2 separate regions of the Homo sapiens genome follow, and region 2 is linked to region 1. The links are contacts of gene promoters, found by promoter capture Hi-C in human tissues and cell types (Jung and others, 2019). All regions are on one chromosome and are shown on one strand. Each heading gives the region's core, a stretch centred on a gene start or on the middle of the fragment in contact. The rest is flanking DNA. Distances are from core to core; before and after follow the strand shown.

Region 1 (7,600 bases), core at 2,605-5,104:
CTTTGTCAAAAATATATATATTGCAGGCCGGGCGTGGTGGCTCATGCCTGTAATCCCAGCACTTTGGGAGGCCAAGGCGGGCAGATCACGAGATCAGGAGATTGAGATCATCCTGGCCAACACAGTGAAACCTCATCTCTACTAAAACACAAAAAATTAGCCTGGTGTGGTGGCACACGCCTGTAGTCCCAGCTACTTGGGAGGCTGAGGCAGGGGAATCGCTTGAACCCTAGAAGCAGAGGTTGCAGTGAGCCGAGATCGCACCACTGCACTCCAGCCTGGTGACAGAGCAAGACTCCGTCTCAAAAAAAAAAAAAAAAAAAAAAAAAAAAAAAATATATATATATATATATATATATATATATATATATAAAATAAATATATGTATCTCTAAATCTTGCCTTTTCTTCCTCTCTTAATGGTCTCTTGAAAATAGCCCATTCTTCTCAATGTTGATGAAGGCCAATCTCTCATTTTGTGGTTACTACTTTTTTTCTTTTGAGACAGAGTCTCGCTCTGTCACCCAGGCTGGAGTGCAGTGGTGCGATCTCAGCTCACTGCAACCTCCACCTCCCGGGTTCACGCCATTCTCCTGCCTCAGCCTCTTGAGTAGCTGGGACCACAGGCACCAGCCACCACACCCGGCTAATTTTTTGTATTTTTAGTAGAGACGGGGTTTCGCCATGTCAGCCAGGATGGTCTCGATCTCCTGACCTCGTGATCTGCCTGTCTTGGCCTCCCAACATGCTGGATTACAGGCGTGAGCCACCGCGCCCGGCCTGTGGTTACTACTTTTTAAAGAACTTGTTTTGTTTTGAGACAGGATCTTGCTCTGTCACCCAGGCTGGAGTGTAGTGGCGCGGTCATAGCTCACTGCAGGCTTGAACTCCCAGGCTCAAGCCATCCTCCCGCCTTAGCCTCTGAAGGAGCTGGGACCACAGGCGCACACCACCACGCCCAGCTAATTTTTGTATTTTTGTAGAGACCGGGTTTCCCCATGTTGCCTAGTCTGGTTTCAAACTCCTGGACTCAAGCAATCCGCCTGCCTCAGCCTCCCAAAGTGTTGGGATTACAGGCATGAGCCAACACATCCGCTTTAAAGTACCTGTTTAGACTACTTTGTTTATCCCAAAATCATGAAGGCATTCTCGTTTCCTTCTAGAAATTCTATTGTTTTTACCTCTCACATCTAGGACTGTAATCCATCTCAAATTAATTTTTGAATATGGTGTGAGGTAGGGGTACTTATTCCTTTTATTGAAAAGACCATCCTTTCCTCAATGATTTCCAATGCGTTCTTGACCCTATAATTAGAATTAACTTCTGTAAGCACTCATTAGATCGTTCCACTTTCCTGCCTGTCTTTAACGGCAGACCATTGCTCTTATGGACAATAATCAGATAATGGTCAGTTCCTTGCGTAACAATACGCAGCTTGATCTGGCCACCTCCTGTCTCTCCTGCCAAATCTTGCCTTGTGTCTGCCTTTCCACTCTGAACATAGAGTTCTTTGGACAGGTCACACCCTCATCCTCAAGCCCTTCCCATATAGAGTGTTTTCATGCCCTTAGACTAGTTACTCAAACTTCAGGTCTCATCTCTTCCAGGAGCCTTCTCAATAGCACAGTCCCTGTCCCTTAAATATAGGTTGTGTGACTTCTATATATGCATTCATGGTCAGGCACAGTGGCTCATGCCTGTAATCCCAGCACTTTGGGAGGCCGAGGCAGGCAGATTACCTGAGGTCGGAAGTTCGAGACCAGCGTGACCAACATGGAGAAATCCCGTCTCCACTAAACATACAAAAATTAACTGGGCGTGATGGTGCACACCTGTAATCCCAGCTACTCGGGAGGCTGAGGCAGGAGAATCACTTGAACCCGGAAGGTGGACGTTGCAGTGAGCCGAGATTGCGCCATCGCACTCCAGCCTGGTCAAGAAGGTGAAATTCCGTCTCAAAAAAAAAAAAAAAAAAAAAAAAAATATATATATATATATATATATATATATATTCGCTCATTGTACCCCCGAGTTTCTAATTATATTTATTTATTTTATTTTTTGAGATGGAGTCTCACTGTGTCGCCCAGGCTGGAGTGCAGTGGCATGATCTCGGCTCACTGCAGCCTTCACCTCCTGGGTTCAAGCAATTCTCCCATCTCAGTCTCCTGAGTAGCTGGGATTACAGGGCCGTGCCACCACAACTGGCTAATATTTTACATTTTTCCTAGAGACAGGGTTTCACCATGTTGGGCAGGCTAGTCTCAAACTCATGACCTCAGGTGATCCACCTGCCTCAGCCTCCCAAAGTGCTGGGGTTACAGGCGTGAGTCACCATGCCCAGCCTATTTTATTTTACTTTTTAGATGGAGTCTCACTCTGTCGTCCGTCCAGGCTGGAGTGCAGAGGTGCAATCTCGGCTCACTGCAACCTCCACCTGTGGGGCTCAAGCAATTCTCCCACCTCAGCCTCCCTAGTAGCTGAGATTACAGGTGCCCACCACCATACCCAGCTAACTTTTGTACTTTTAGTAGAGACGGGGTTTCACCATGTTAGCCAGGCTGGTCTGGAACTCCCGACCTCAGGTGATCCACCCGCCTCAGCCTCCCAAAGTGCTGGGATTACAGGTAAGAGCCACCACACCTGGCCTTCTATTTATATTTAAATATCTCCCCATTATAACTTCTCTGAGGGAAAGGAGGAGGCCTATTTAGTTCACATGAGAGGTGCGTCCTAAATACTGTTGAATGAATGAATAAATTTAAGGGACGATTCTGTCCCAGGAACCCAGACAGTATGGACCTTGGAGAAACAGGACGTTTCCAGTCTCAGATCTAGCACTTGGCTAATAATTATTTCTGAGCCTCGATTTTCAAATCTGTAAAATTAAGATATACTATTCTCTACTTAGGATTGTAATGGGCATCAAATAAGATAATGTGGCTGGGCACAGTGGCTCACATCTGTAATCCCAGTACTTTGGGAGGCCGAGGTGGGAGCATCACTTGAGGCCAGGAGTGCGAGACCAGCCTAGGCAACAGAGTAAGACCCCCCCCGCCCCCACCCCATCTCTACAAAAAACTTAAAAGTTAGCAGGGTGTGGTGGCATGCATTTGTGGTCCCAGCTACTTGGGAGGCTAAGGTGGGAGGATCGCTTGAGCCTGAGTTTGAGGCTGCAGTGAGCTGTGATTGAGCCTCTGCACTCCAGCCTAGGCAACAGAGCGAGACCTTGTCTTTCAAAATAATAAAATGATAAGGTAATGCGCAGAAGCATTCAGCACAGTGATTGGCACATGGAGGGCCCATTGGGGTGTTTTTGTTTTTGTTTTTGTTGTTGTTTGAGACAGAGTCTCGCTCTATGGCCCAGGCTGGATGGATTGCAGTGGCATGATCTCGGCTCACTGCAATCTCCGCCTCCTGGGTTCAAGCGATTATCTTGCCTCAGCCTCCCGAGTAGCTGGGATTACAGGCGTACACCACCAAGCCCGGCTAATTTTTCTTGTATTTTTAGTAGAGACGGGGTTTCACCATGTTGGCCAGGCTGGTCTCGAACTTCTGATCTTAGGTGATCCGCCCGCCTTGGCCTCCCAAAATGCTGGGATTACAGGCCACCGTGCCTGGCCATTGAGTGTTATTAAGAGGAGGGTACGCAGAAAACAGACTCCCGCCAGCTCTGCCCCATGCGCATGAGCGGCCGCCGCTCGCCCTCAGCCAGGCCCAGCGCGCCCCGACGCGTCCCCACGCCTGCGTGATCCACCGGAACCCAAGCCCAGGCAGGCGGTGAGAGGGCGGGGCCTCCGCAGTGCGACTGCGCCGCTCGAGGCCGTGCGTCGCGGGGGCGGGGCCGCGCAGGCGTACCGGGTGCCCCGGCTCTGGAGCATAAACAAGAGCGGGGACGGGATGAGGCGGCGGTTGATCCCAGGGTGGCGAGTGGCGGCGACCGAGGCGGCGAGCGGGGCCCGGCGCCGACCCTGAGTGCAGCCTGACCCGCCCTCGCGCGCGCGCCCTCCCCGGCCGGGCCCACTCGCCGCGCGCCCAGCCATGAACCTGGCGAGCCAGAGCGGGGAGGCCGGCGCCGGCCAGCTGCTCTTCGCCAACTTCAACCAGGACAACACGTAAGGCCGGGGTCGGGGGTCGGAGTCGGGGTGAGGCCAGGGTCGGACCCGGGCTAGGGGGAGGGCCTCGCTGCCAAGCTCGGCGGCGTCGCAGGCTCGGCCTCCCCGCGGGCCAAGGCGCGCAGAGGCGTCCCCAGGGGCGGGCCCGGGGCGTGCAGGGAGGGGCGCCCTCCAGGGAGACCCTCGGGTGCTGGCCTGGAGCTGCGGTCCCGGAGCGGGAGAGGTGGTGGAGAGGGGGCTGCTTTCACCCTCTTGCGGGGAGGCCCCCTGGCTTCAGACTTAACTACTTCTCGCAAAGTTGGGGCCGAACTTTGGGGCTTGACTTGTCTTGGCCGCCTGTGGAGCGCTGGGTGTGGGTCGCTTCCTCTCCTCTCGTCTCCTCTTCCCGCTGCTTGCTCAGCGTCTCCCACTCACTCTCCTTTGAATCAGGCCCTTCTCCTTGTCTTTTCATCGTCTTAAGACCCTTCTCTCTCTCTTGATTTTCTTTTCTTCGTTTCTCACTGTTTTTTTGTTTGTTTTTGTTTTTTGGGGTTTGTTTTGTTTTGAGACAGAGTCTTGCTCTGTTGCCCAGGCTGGAGTGCAGTGGTGCCATCTCAGCTCACTGCAACCTCCGCCTCCTGGGTTCAAGCGATTCTCCTGCCTCAGCCTCCCGAGTAGCTGAGACTACAGGCACGCGCCACTGTGCCCAGCTAACTTTTTTGTATTTGTAGTAGAGACAGGGTTTCACCATGTTGGTCAGGCTGGTCTCAAATTCCTGACCTCAAGTGATCCGCCCACCTCAGCCTCCCAAAGTGCTGGGATTACAGGTGTGAGCCACCGTGCGCGGCCCTCCCTGTTCTTTTTGGGACATCAACTTTGATGTCTTCTCCAGCAAGTAACAAACTTAGCAATAACCTTGGCATCTGACCTAGCTAGGGAGAAACTGAGCCAAGAGAGGCGTTACGGACCAGTGCCCCAGGAGTCTCAGAGCTCCAGCGGGTGGGTCATCCTCAGGGCAAGAGAAGGCCTTAATGCCAGCCCGTGCATTCGGAACGCTGTTTGTCCCCACTGATACGGGTTGGATGCTGCCTGGGAGGAGGACTTGTGGGGATGGTTAATAGATGAGCGAGCTTTCTGGAGAGAGAAGGGTGAGTTATGGGGTTGGCAGGGAGGAGAGCCATCTTGGAAGTGAGTAAGAGGAAGTGAGGAAAGAGAAGGAGTGGGGCATTTGGCATCTTACTAAGTCATTGGTTGAGTTGTTACTGGCTGAGTGGAATTAACATAGCAGAAGGTAAGATTCTTTAGGAAATTAAAAGTGAATTGTAGAATGGACAACACTCAGTGGGTGGTGTACAGCAGGCACTCAATAGCACCTCCCCAAAGCTGTGAAGACAGTCGCACAGTGGGACTGTATTGAGAGTCGGAAGGGGCAAATCACCTCATCCAACTACAGATGAGGAAATCCTTCCGAAAGGCTCCAAGCTGGTCTGGGTTTTGGAATTGGTTAATAGTGGAGCGGGGGCAGGAGTGGAATCTCGCCTCCTGAGCTCTCTTCCAATGTTCTTTCTGCTCTGCCATGCTGTTTTTTTTTCTGTTTACAGAGTAGAATTCTGAAGACAGTGAATTTAGAAATAATAGCATAACAACGTGTAAAGATGAAAACTCCCAAGTACTGTAGCGTTCTGTGTGACCAAAAGCCAGAACAACAAACAATTCGGACAACCTGTTGCAGTTCAAGTGGAATAGACTATGTTAATCCAGATAGGGAAAAGGACACATCCCAAACCAATTCTAATTTGGTTTTTAAGCCCAAGGCCACAGTATTTTGAGACCAGTAAGAAATGGTAGTAGTAGTAGGGTGGTTTATGCCTTGTATAAATTAGAGAGTTTCCAAAACATTGTCGGCCACTCTTTCAGTTTTTCACTAATTATTTCTATCAGAATGAAATCAAATAGAGAAAAGCATTCTCTTTTACTGTTACTTCAGCTGGACTGCCATGTTCCCTGTGTCACAGAAGAGTGTCACTCTGGCCTGAAATAGGACCTTTTCACACTTGGACATTTTCACACTTACCCACTTCTCCATGCTCCCCGAAGTTATTACAGTTCAAGAGATTTCTGTTACTTTGAGATTTCATAACTTTGACTTGCCAGAGAGACCTTGATGTAGTGTAAACCTAAATTGGAATGAATAGTAAGCTAGGATTATACTAGAAGTTGACTGGGCTAAAATGACGGTAATTTGTTTTAAATCTACACTTGAAAGAAATAGAGAAGTTCCCGGAGAGAGCTTTTATGGCTTATACCTTTTCCTCCCTTCTTAATCTCCAGAATTTATTGAGGAGCACAATTTTTAGCAAGTGAAAGAATGACCGTCTAGAACTCACATTTACTGTATGCAGTGAGAAAATTTGGAAGCCAGTTCACTTACTAGAATATATATGTTATAGGGTCATTTCCCTTTTTTTTGTCTTTTAAATTCTTTTTGTATTTGTTACATACCAAACTATAACTGTCCTGCCTTTCTTTACTGGTAATATGATTTCCAATGTCGTACTTTTTCATGATTCCTATCCTAAAAGTGTGCATAAGTTTTATTTGTTTTTTACCATTTGTTTTTTGTTTTGTTTTGTTTTTTTACCTAGAGAAGTGAAAGGGGCATCAAGAGCAGCTGGTCTTGGCCGTCGCGCTGTTGTCTGGTTAGTTCCAACCCTGGTTTCTGAAAGTATCACCTTGGAAGGCTTATGTTAGAGGACTTTTTTGGCTTTTTGAAATTGCAGTGAACCAGTTAATAAGTGGGAGAGGATCACTTGAATCTGAAATGGAAATATCAAGGACTACATTTTTCCAGTGGATACCACAGCTTGTGGGAAGTTAGTGATGTAGCAATGTCTGTTTTAAATGCCATGTCTAAAAGGGATGGAATGAAGAAAGGGACTTGACTTTCCAAGTCTTGTGTTTGTAGAATTGATGTTATGAAGTGTGTGGAGACAACAGGAGAAACCTGTTGTTTTCTTCCACCATGTCTCTTCTAGGTTATGCTTATTGTGCTGGGAAGGTACTGCTCTCCTCTCTTTGTTCATCTGTAAATCAAGGGTTTGGGTTTTTGTTTTTGAGATGGAGTCTCACTGTTGCACAGTTTGAAGTGCAGTGGCATAGTTATAATGATCATAGCTTACTGCAACTTTGAGTTCCTGGGCTCAAGCGGTCCTCCTGCCTCAGCCTCCCGAGAAACCGGGACTACAGGCGTAGGCCCCACACCTGGCTAATTTTTTTTTTAGTTTTTGTAGGCACAGGGTCTTGCTATGTCGACCAGGCTGGTGTTGAACTCCTGGCCTCATGCGATCTTCCTGCCTCAGCCTCCAGAGCATTGGGATTACAGGTGTGAGCCGTTGTGCCCGGCCTGAAGATGGTTTCTAAGATCCTTCACCCTTAAAGTTTTAAGTAATTCTGCCTGCTATGCAAAGGATATGTTTGAGGAGGGCAGGGGGTGACTTAGGAGGATA
Region 2 (7,600 bases), core at 2,263-4,762, 1.3 Mb after region 1:
GCAGGCGGATCATGAGGTCAGGAGATCGAGACCATCCTGGCTAACATGGTGAAACCCTATCTCTACTAAAAAAAATACAAAAAATTAGCCGGGCGTGGTGGCGGGTGCCTATAGTTCCAGCTACTCAGGAGGCTGAGGCAGGAGAATGGTGTGAACCCAGGAGGCGGAGCTTGCAGTGTGCCGAGATCTCGCCACTGCACTCCAGCCTGGGTGACAGACTGACTCTGTCTCAAAAAAAATAAAAAATAAATAAATAAATAAATAAATAAATGTATAGCTCACATTTGTTTCGGTTTTTTTTTTTTTTTTTTTTTTTGAGATGGAGTCTCGCTCTGTCGCCCAGGCTGGAGTGCAGTGGCACAATCTCGGCTCACTGCAACCTCCGCCTCCCAGGTTCAAGCGATTCTCCTGCCTCAACCTCCCAAGTAGCTGGGATTACAAGCGCCTGCCACCATGCCCAGCTAATTTTTATATTTGTAGTAGAGACGGGGTTTCCATGTTGGTCAGGCTGGTCTCGAACTCTTGACCTCAGGTGATCTGCCTGCCTCGGCTTCCCAAAGTGCTGGGATTACAGGCGTGAGCCACAGCACCCGGCCTGTTTTGGGTCTTTATTTAAAAGTCTGGTGGTGTTTTGGGGACCGGAAATATGCTGTAGGAACTTAACTCTTACTCATGTCAATTAGCCTATGGTAAAACTGGCTTCAGTGTATGTTGTTTCACTTCAAGTTGCAGTGTGTGTTGTTTCACTTCAAGAACCTACCAATGACATTAAGTGAGGGCCTAGTGTTAATAATTTGTTCCTTTTTATAGCTGCGTCCATTGGTGGTCCATTGTATGGATGCACCAGTTTGTTTATTCACTCACCAGTTGAAGGACAGGTGGTTTCTAATTTGGGAGGACAGTGGATAAAGCTGCTGTGAACATTTGCGTACAAGTGTTTGTGTGAATGTAAGTTTTCACTTCTCTTGGGTATGTACTTAGGGGTGGGACTGCTGGGTCATATGTTAAGTGTAAGTTTAACTTTTTTTTTTTTTTTGAAACGGAGCCTTGCTCTGTCACCAGGCTGGAGTGCAGTGGAGCAATCTCGGCTCACTGCAACCTCCGCTTCCCGGGTTCAAGCAATTCTCCTGCCTCAGCCTCCCCAGTAGCTGAGATTACAGGCGCATGCCGCCACACCCAGCTAATTTTTAGTAGAGATGGGGTTTCACCATGTTGGCCAGGATGGTCTCGATCTCCTCACCATGTATGTGAATAAATACAAAACAAAATCTACATGCATAAACAAGACACACATCCATCTACACATGCACTGAGCCCCCTCAGCGCATCTAGCCAAGGCTCACAGCAGAGAGGCCTCTCACCAGGACCTAGACTGTGGCCAGCTCAACATTAATAAAAACTTGATGGGCGTTATTTCCACTAAGGCCTTAGCAGCACCTGGAGAAGAACAGCTGCTTCTCTCCTCTCACCAGCACACAGAAGTTAAAGTAAAAAGACACGAGCACCTCGGGTCTCACGCCAGACTTTCAGGACATCGTGCTTAGAAACTACAACCAAGCAAGCATGGATTCCTCTGAAACCTGGGCATCCTGAGGGGGAGAGAGGATTCTTGCTCACACACCTCTAATGCCTGCAGTTTTAACTTGCCTAGACAAGTGGGGACCTAACCATTTTTAAGTAAGCTCATTATTTCCTGAATACTAGGTTCCCATCATTTGGTAATGAAGAATCCATTATAAGTGACTCAAATTTGCTTTTTAGTAAAGACCAGACTCACATACTGCTTTGTCTCCTTTCAACAGTGCTTATGAAAATGCTCTTGAACACAAAATGTTGGGGGGAGGTTGTTTAGGTGCCATACCAATAGGATTCAGTTGAAATATTACTTCCTTGGGTATGCTAATAACCAAATGGCCTAGAATAGTGCCTGGTGCACAGGTGCTCAGTATTTGTAGAAAGAAGGAAAGAAAGAAAGAAATCAGACTCCTATTACATATCCTGAGAGCCCCTGTTCTTTTTTTTTTTTTTTTTTTTCAGACAGGATCCTGCTCTGTCACCCAGGCTGCCAGGCTGGAGGGCAGTGGTGCAATTACGGCTCACTGCAGCTTCAACCTCCAGGGCTCAAGCGATCCTACCACCTTACCCTCCTGAGTAGTTGGGACTACAGGAGTATGCCACCATGCCTGGCTAATTTTTGTATTTTTTTTTTTTTTTTTTTTTTAGAGACAGGGGTCTAACTATGTTGCTCAGGCTGGTCTCGGATTCCTTGGCTCAAGCAATCCACCCACCTTGGCCTCCCAAAGTGCTGGGATTACAGGCGGGAGCTACTGGGCCTGTTTCATGTTTTTTATATCCATAGGTTCGCAACTCTTATACTTTTCCTTTGTGGCACCCATCATAAATCGCAGTCATTTGTACTGCCATGATCTGTGTACTCTCCCACACCAGCCTAGAGACTTCTGCTTATTTTCTGCCGCATCCTCAGTTCCCAGCTCTGTAGGTGTTCACAAGCATGAATTCAACACTGTGCGAAAGAACTGAAGCTCACGTAGTCCACAACTTCCCCCAGTGTGGGGTGTGTGCCACCAGTGCTACACAAAGTGTTAGGTGGTGTGCAAACATTTTGTATTTTAATAGTTATACACTAGTTTTAATGTGAATTAGAAAAAATATAAGAAAGACAACAAAGGTGTTATAGATACTAATAATTAGGACAAGTTGAAAGGTTTAAAAAAATACGTTACTAAGTAAATGATGGTATAGAGATCATTTAAGCACGGCAAATGTAATAAAAATGACACACACACAACAGTTTAAGTAAAACTGACTCAGTGGCAAAGAAAAAAGATAGAAGCCTATAGACAGTTCCTCACACAGCAGCGAAATGAGACACTGCAACTAGGAGTCCTGCTTTCGTTCCTTGTTATGTACCAACTTGCTGGATTTCTCTGGGGACTCTGTAATTTCCCACGGCTTGAAAATATAATAGTTACCGCTCTTACTTACAGAGTTATCAAGAGCTTTAGATTTATCATACTTAAGGAACCTAAAATAAAAAAGTTCTAACTTCAAAGTATTTTAATTAACTACTGTTTTGAAACCAAAAATGTATGCTTACTGATAGCTCGTTTAGTCCCAGTTATATATACAAGGTGGTCTGAAAGTTTTAAAGTCAAGAACAGCATATTAAGACATTATTTTTGGAGCATTTTAATTAAAAATACACAGCTGACATAAATTAAGTGTCCATAGACCTGTGCACTGTAGATGAAATACATTCCTGTGGATGGCATACCATACCTTCATAGATGTGTTATACAATGAAATAAATGAAGTAAAAAGATCCAGGTAACGAGTTGTGAAGACCAGTGCAAACAGAAGCTGGCTTTTCCCAGAAATACCTAGAGAAACAGAAGGGAAGTATTAGAAGGGCCTGAAGAGCTTTGGGATTCCTGTGGATCACACTGTGCAGGGAGTGCAGACAGGGAAGGAGGGGTGCGTGGGGTCAAGGCCCAGGTCTAGGGATGGCTCTGAATGAACAAGAGCAGTTGTAGTTTTTCTATCCCTTCCCATTCCCAAACATGCTCCTTTTGGGAGGCTCTAACAGGCTTTTCTGTCTCACTATAAAGGGCGACCACAGGAAAGGGGCTTTATTATGCCAGGATGTGTATCATTCAAACGAACCTTTTACTTCTCAAATATATCACCTTAAGTAGGAACAAATTTCTCAATAATTCTGCTGTCATTTAGTGTTATAACTTGTCTCTTACATTCAGATTTTTCTTTTTTGTTTTCCCCTGAGACAGGGTCTCCCTCTGCTGCCCAGGCTGGAGTGCAGAGGCACGATCAAGCTCACTGTAGCCTTGACCTCCTGGGCTTCAGCAATCTTCCCACCTCGGCCTCCAGAGTAGGTGGGACTAGAGGTGTGAACTACCACACCCAGCTAATTTTTAAACAAATTTTTTGTTCACCATGTTGCCCACACTGGTCTTGAACTCCTGGGCCCAGCTTCCCAAAGCGTTGGCATTACAGGTATGAGCCATGTCGCCTGGTCCCTTCTTTGTATGGTAAAACAGTATCTCCATGGTGAGAAATCTTTTGAGAACGGAGATGGAGTCTACTGTCATTAAGGGGGATGAGGAGTAGATGAGAAGCACCGACTCAGGTAAGAGTTGGGCAGGAACTCCCGCTGGAATAATGGCATCGCATCCCATGGTGACTTCTTTGCTAAGAGCGGCAATTACTTGGATATGTTAAGATTTTTAAAGCTTCCCTCTCAGTTAGGCATAGTGGTCATGCCTATAATCTCCACATATAGGGGGGCTAAGGCGGGAGAATCGCTTGAGCCCAGGAGTTTGAGACCAGACTCCATCTCTACGAAAAATAGAAAAGTGATAGCCAGGCAAGGTGGCACACACCTGTGGTCCCAGCTACATGGGAGGTTGAGGTGGGAGGATTGCGTGACTCCAGGAGGCTGAGGCTGAGTGAGCTGTGGTCACATCCCTGCACTCTAGCCTGGGTGACAGAGCAAGACCCTGTCTCAAAAAATAAATTAATTACAATAAAATAGAAATTCCATTGTATTTGTATAAAAATGTTCCTGAATGCTAGGACAACATGAAGGTATGAACCCACAACTACAGCTGGTCTTCAAAAGCAGCTGTCTTTTTTAAAGCCTTGAAACTGTGTTTCCACTTCCAACCACCAACCCACCTCCAGAGCACTGCATGGCACAGCCACACTCAGCCAGGAAGGCTGGACATTTATGTGGTGTGCACACAGCTTTTCTGACATCTATATTTGGCCAAATATTTATGTGACAAAGGACGCAAACTATGGGTTTCAGATGCTGGAGACTGAGCAAATGCATTAAAGAAACTGAAGGCTGACTAAATGTCAGAACCCACCCACCCTCATCTATAATGCATACTTCACACCACTACACATTTTAGTAAGTATGAATTTAACAGAAAAGTCACTTCACCCAAATCATTCACAACACTCCTCTGGAACGTGAAAAGCACATTATTTTTCTTTTCTTTTTTTGAGACTGGGTCTCACTCTGTTGCCCAGGCTGGAGTGCGGTGGCACAAGTACAGCCCACTGCACCTTTGACCTCCCTGGGCTGAGGTGATCCTCCCACCTCAGCCTCCTGAGTAGCTGGGACTACAGGTGGGTGCACCACCACACCTGGCTAATATTTGTATTACATGTTGTTTTTCAATATTTTATGAACAATCATTTTGCAGCTTGCTGAAACTGAAAACCTGAATGTAAGAATGTTACTTTCTCAGATGAATAACTGTAGTCTCAGCCTATTCACATACACATCTAAATAGAAATGGAAAAAAATGTTGATGCCACCCTTCCAGATCCATCAATAGAAACCAAAGGGCCAAAGGAGGAGACACGGACAGTGAATCTGCTCTTAGTCTTTTCCCCGTAACGGATAACTGATTTCTTCCTACAGAGACCAATGTTCCAAAGGGGAAATGACAAGGCTGCTGCTAACCAAGAAACCGGGAGGTTTCAGAGGGGGAAGAAGAAAGAACAGGGAGCAGTCAGACCATACCTGGTGTTTGTTGAAGCCTTGAGAAATCAATTTCCAGCTTATTTCCTATATGGTTCTTTCCAATATTTTAAATATAAACATACAGGATACAAGTAGGTGAATTTTGTGGGAAAGGGTTTTACTCTAACAGAACTTTGGAAGCCAGGCAGATTTGAAATTGTGTCCTCATTCCCAGCATTCCTATACTGAAAACCAGGGACCATCATATTGTCTTTACCAGCCCCCGTGGGGACCCAGCTCATATCCCACCTCCTCTGGGATGTCATCTCTGAAGATACCCTCCCTCAGGACTGTTGATTCATTCAGCAAGCACATAAGGGGAACTGCTTCATGCCAGCTGCTGCCCTAGCTCCAATTACAGTACTTATAAAAATACACTGTGATGATGTGGTTCCTGCCTCTCCTCTCCCCAAAAACCTCACTCAGTACCAAGATCTTTAAAGGCTGGGGTCATGCCTTATTCCATCTTGTATTCCCTGCATGGGACACTGGGCCCTGACACACAGCAGGACTCAGAAAATATTTGCTGAATGAATAAATGGACAAAAGAAAATGGGATTCATTTTATCTTCATGTCATGGGGTCAAATTCTCATTTTGTGGTATTTTGGGAGAACACTTCTGAAGAATGTCCAGGTCATACTGTGTCTCTGTGACTGTAAATAGGGCTCTGCCCTAATTAACTACTAGCTAGAGGGTGAGAGAGCCCCAGGTGCGCACAGGGCAGTGTGTGGTTTGAAGCCGGTCCATGGAGTAGCGTCCACGCAGGACAGCCTTGCTGGAAATCTGCGGATGCTAACGTGGTCCCACACTGTTCTTCCCCAGCCTGAGATCCTGATTAGGAAGTAGCAGCTTCTTCCTTTAAAACAACAAAACTGTCCTGTCTTCATAGGAAAATGGGAATCCTAGCTGAAGACAGAAGGGGGTGGGGCAAGAATCTCCTGGAGGGGTTGGGAGTAGAATACCTGCTATTAAACCAGAGCAGCTCCTAGTCGGCTTCTCTCCACTTTGAGATCAAAGCATGCTAAGGTTACCAGGTAATAAGATCTCCCAGAATACTCACTTTTGTAAATGTTTCTGAAACTGATATCCCCTTACCAAATACACCAAACATCTATATTAAGGAGTACAACTTGTTAAATGGAAATCAGTCATTAAACAACATCATTCTTGTCTTATCCTACTGGGCCAGGTTAAATGTCTTTTGTTTTCTGTTTTGTTTTCGAGATGGGGTCTCTCTCTGTAGCCCAGGCTGGAGTAGACTGGTGCAATCATAGCTTCCAGCCTTGACCTCCTAGGCTCAAGCAATCTTCCCAATGAGGTATTATATATTACAAAATAGTTAGAAGTTTTCGAATGAAGAAATGATAAACACATGAGGTGACGGAAATAACTACCCAGATTAGACTATACAACATACACATGTATTGAAACATCAAACTGTACCCCATAAATAGATCCAATCATAATGTATCAATTAAAAAATTTTAATCCGTAACCCCAAATAATGCAAATTAAAACACATAAACCAAAAATAAGACATGAACATTTTAAAATTTGATATTGTCAAATTTCTCCTAGAAAGGCTATGCCAATTTACGTATCTACTAACACGAAATGCAAAGACCCTTTCTTCACATCCTTGCCAACATTTTCCTACCCAGTGGTATGTACTGCTGTTCTTTTTTCTTTGCTTGCCCGCCCCCCGGTTTTTTTTTTGAGACAGAACCTCACTCAGTTGCCCAACCCAGGGTATAATGGCATGATCACAGCTCGCTGCAGCCTGGGGCTTAAGCGATTCTCCCTCCTTAGCCACCTGAGTAGCTAAGACACAGGTGCACGCCACCACGCCCAGCTAATTTTTCATTTTTTTTGTAGAGACAGGGTTTCACTATGTTGCCCAGGCTGGTCTCAAGCTCCTGGCCTCAAGTGATCCTTTAGCTTTGACCTCCCAAAGCGCTGCCACCACACCTGGCCGCACTGCTATTTTCATATTCAAATTCCTAACTCCTAGCAAGACTAAGCATCC

Evidence for each region. Contacts are between HindIII fragments. The study calls those that stand out against the background at their distance.
Region 2: a contact is called between a fragment that was not itself captured here and the fragment with the promoter of WIPI2 in region 1, in 1 of the 25 tissues and cell types used here (spleen).

Annotation. Positions count from the first base shown.
Region 1 is chr7:5,186,379-5,193,978 of GRCh38, forward strand. It overlaps WIPI2 (WD repeat domain, phosphoinositide interacting 2), which reads left to right and starts at 3,855. Exons shown (of 13, transcript NM_015610.4): 1 at 3,855-4,115; 2 at 6,740-6,793. The coding sequence starts at 4,042. RefSeq lists silencers at 837-966, 3,640-4,289, 4,300-4,349. The HindIII fragment of the contact is 24,553 bases long and covers 1-7,600 here.
Region 2 is chr7:6,470,884-6,478,483 of GRCh38, forward strand. It overlaps KDELR2 (KDEL endoplasmic reticulum protein retention receptor 2), which reads right to left. Exons shown (of 5, transcript NM_006854.4): 2 at 3,301-3,401. Among named protein-coding and RNA genes, the nearest start is that of KDELR2, 9.5 kb to the right of the region's middle. The HindIII fragment of the contact is 6,301 bases long and covers 363-6,663 here.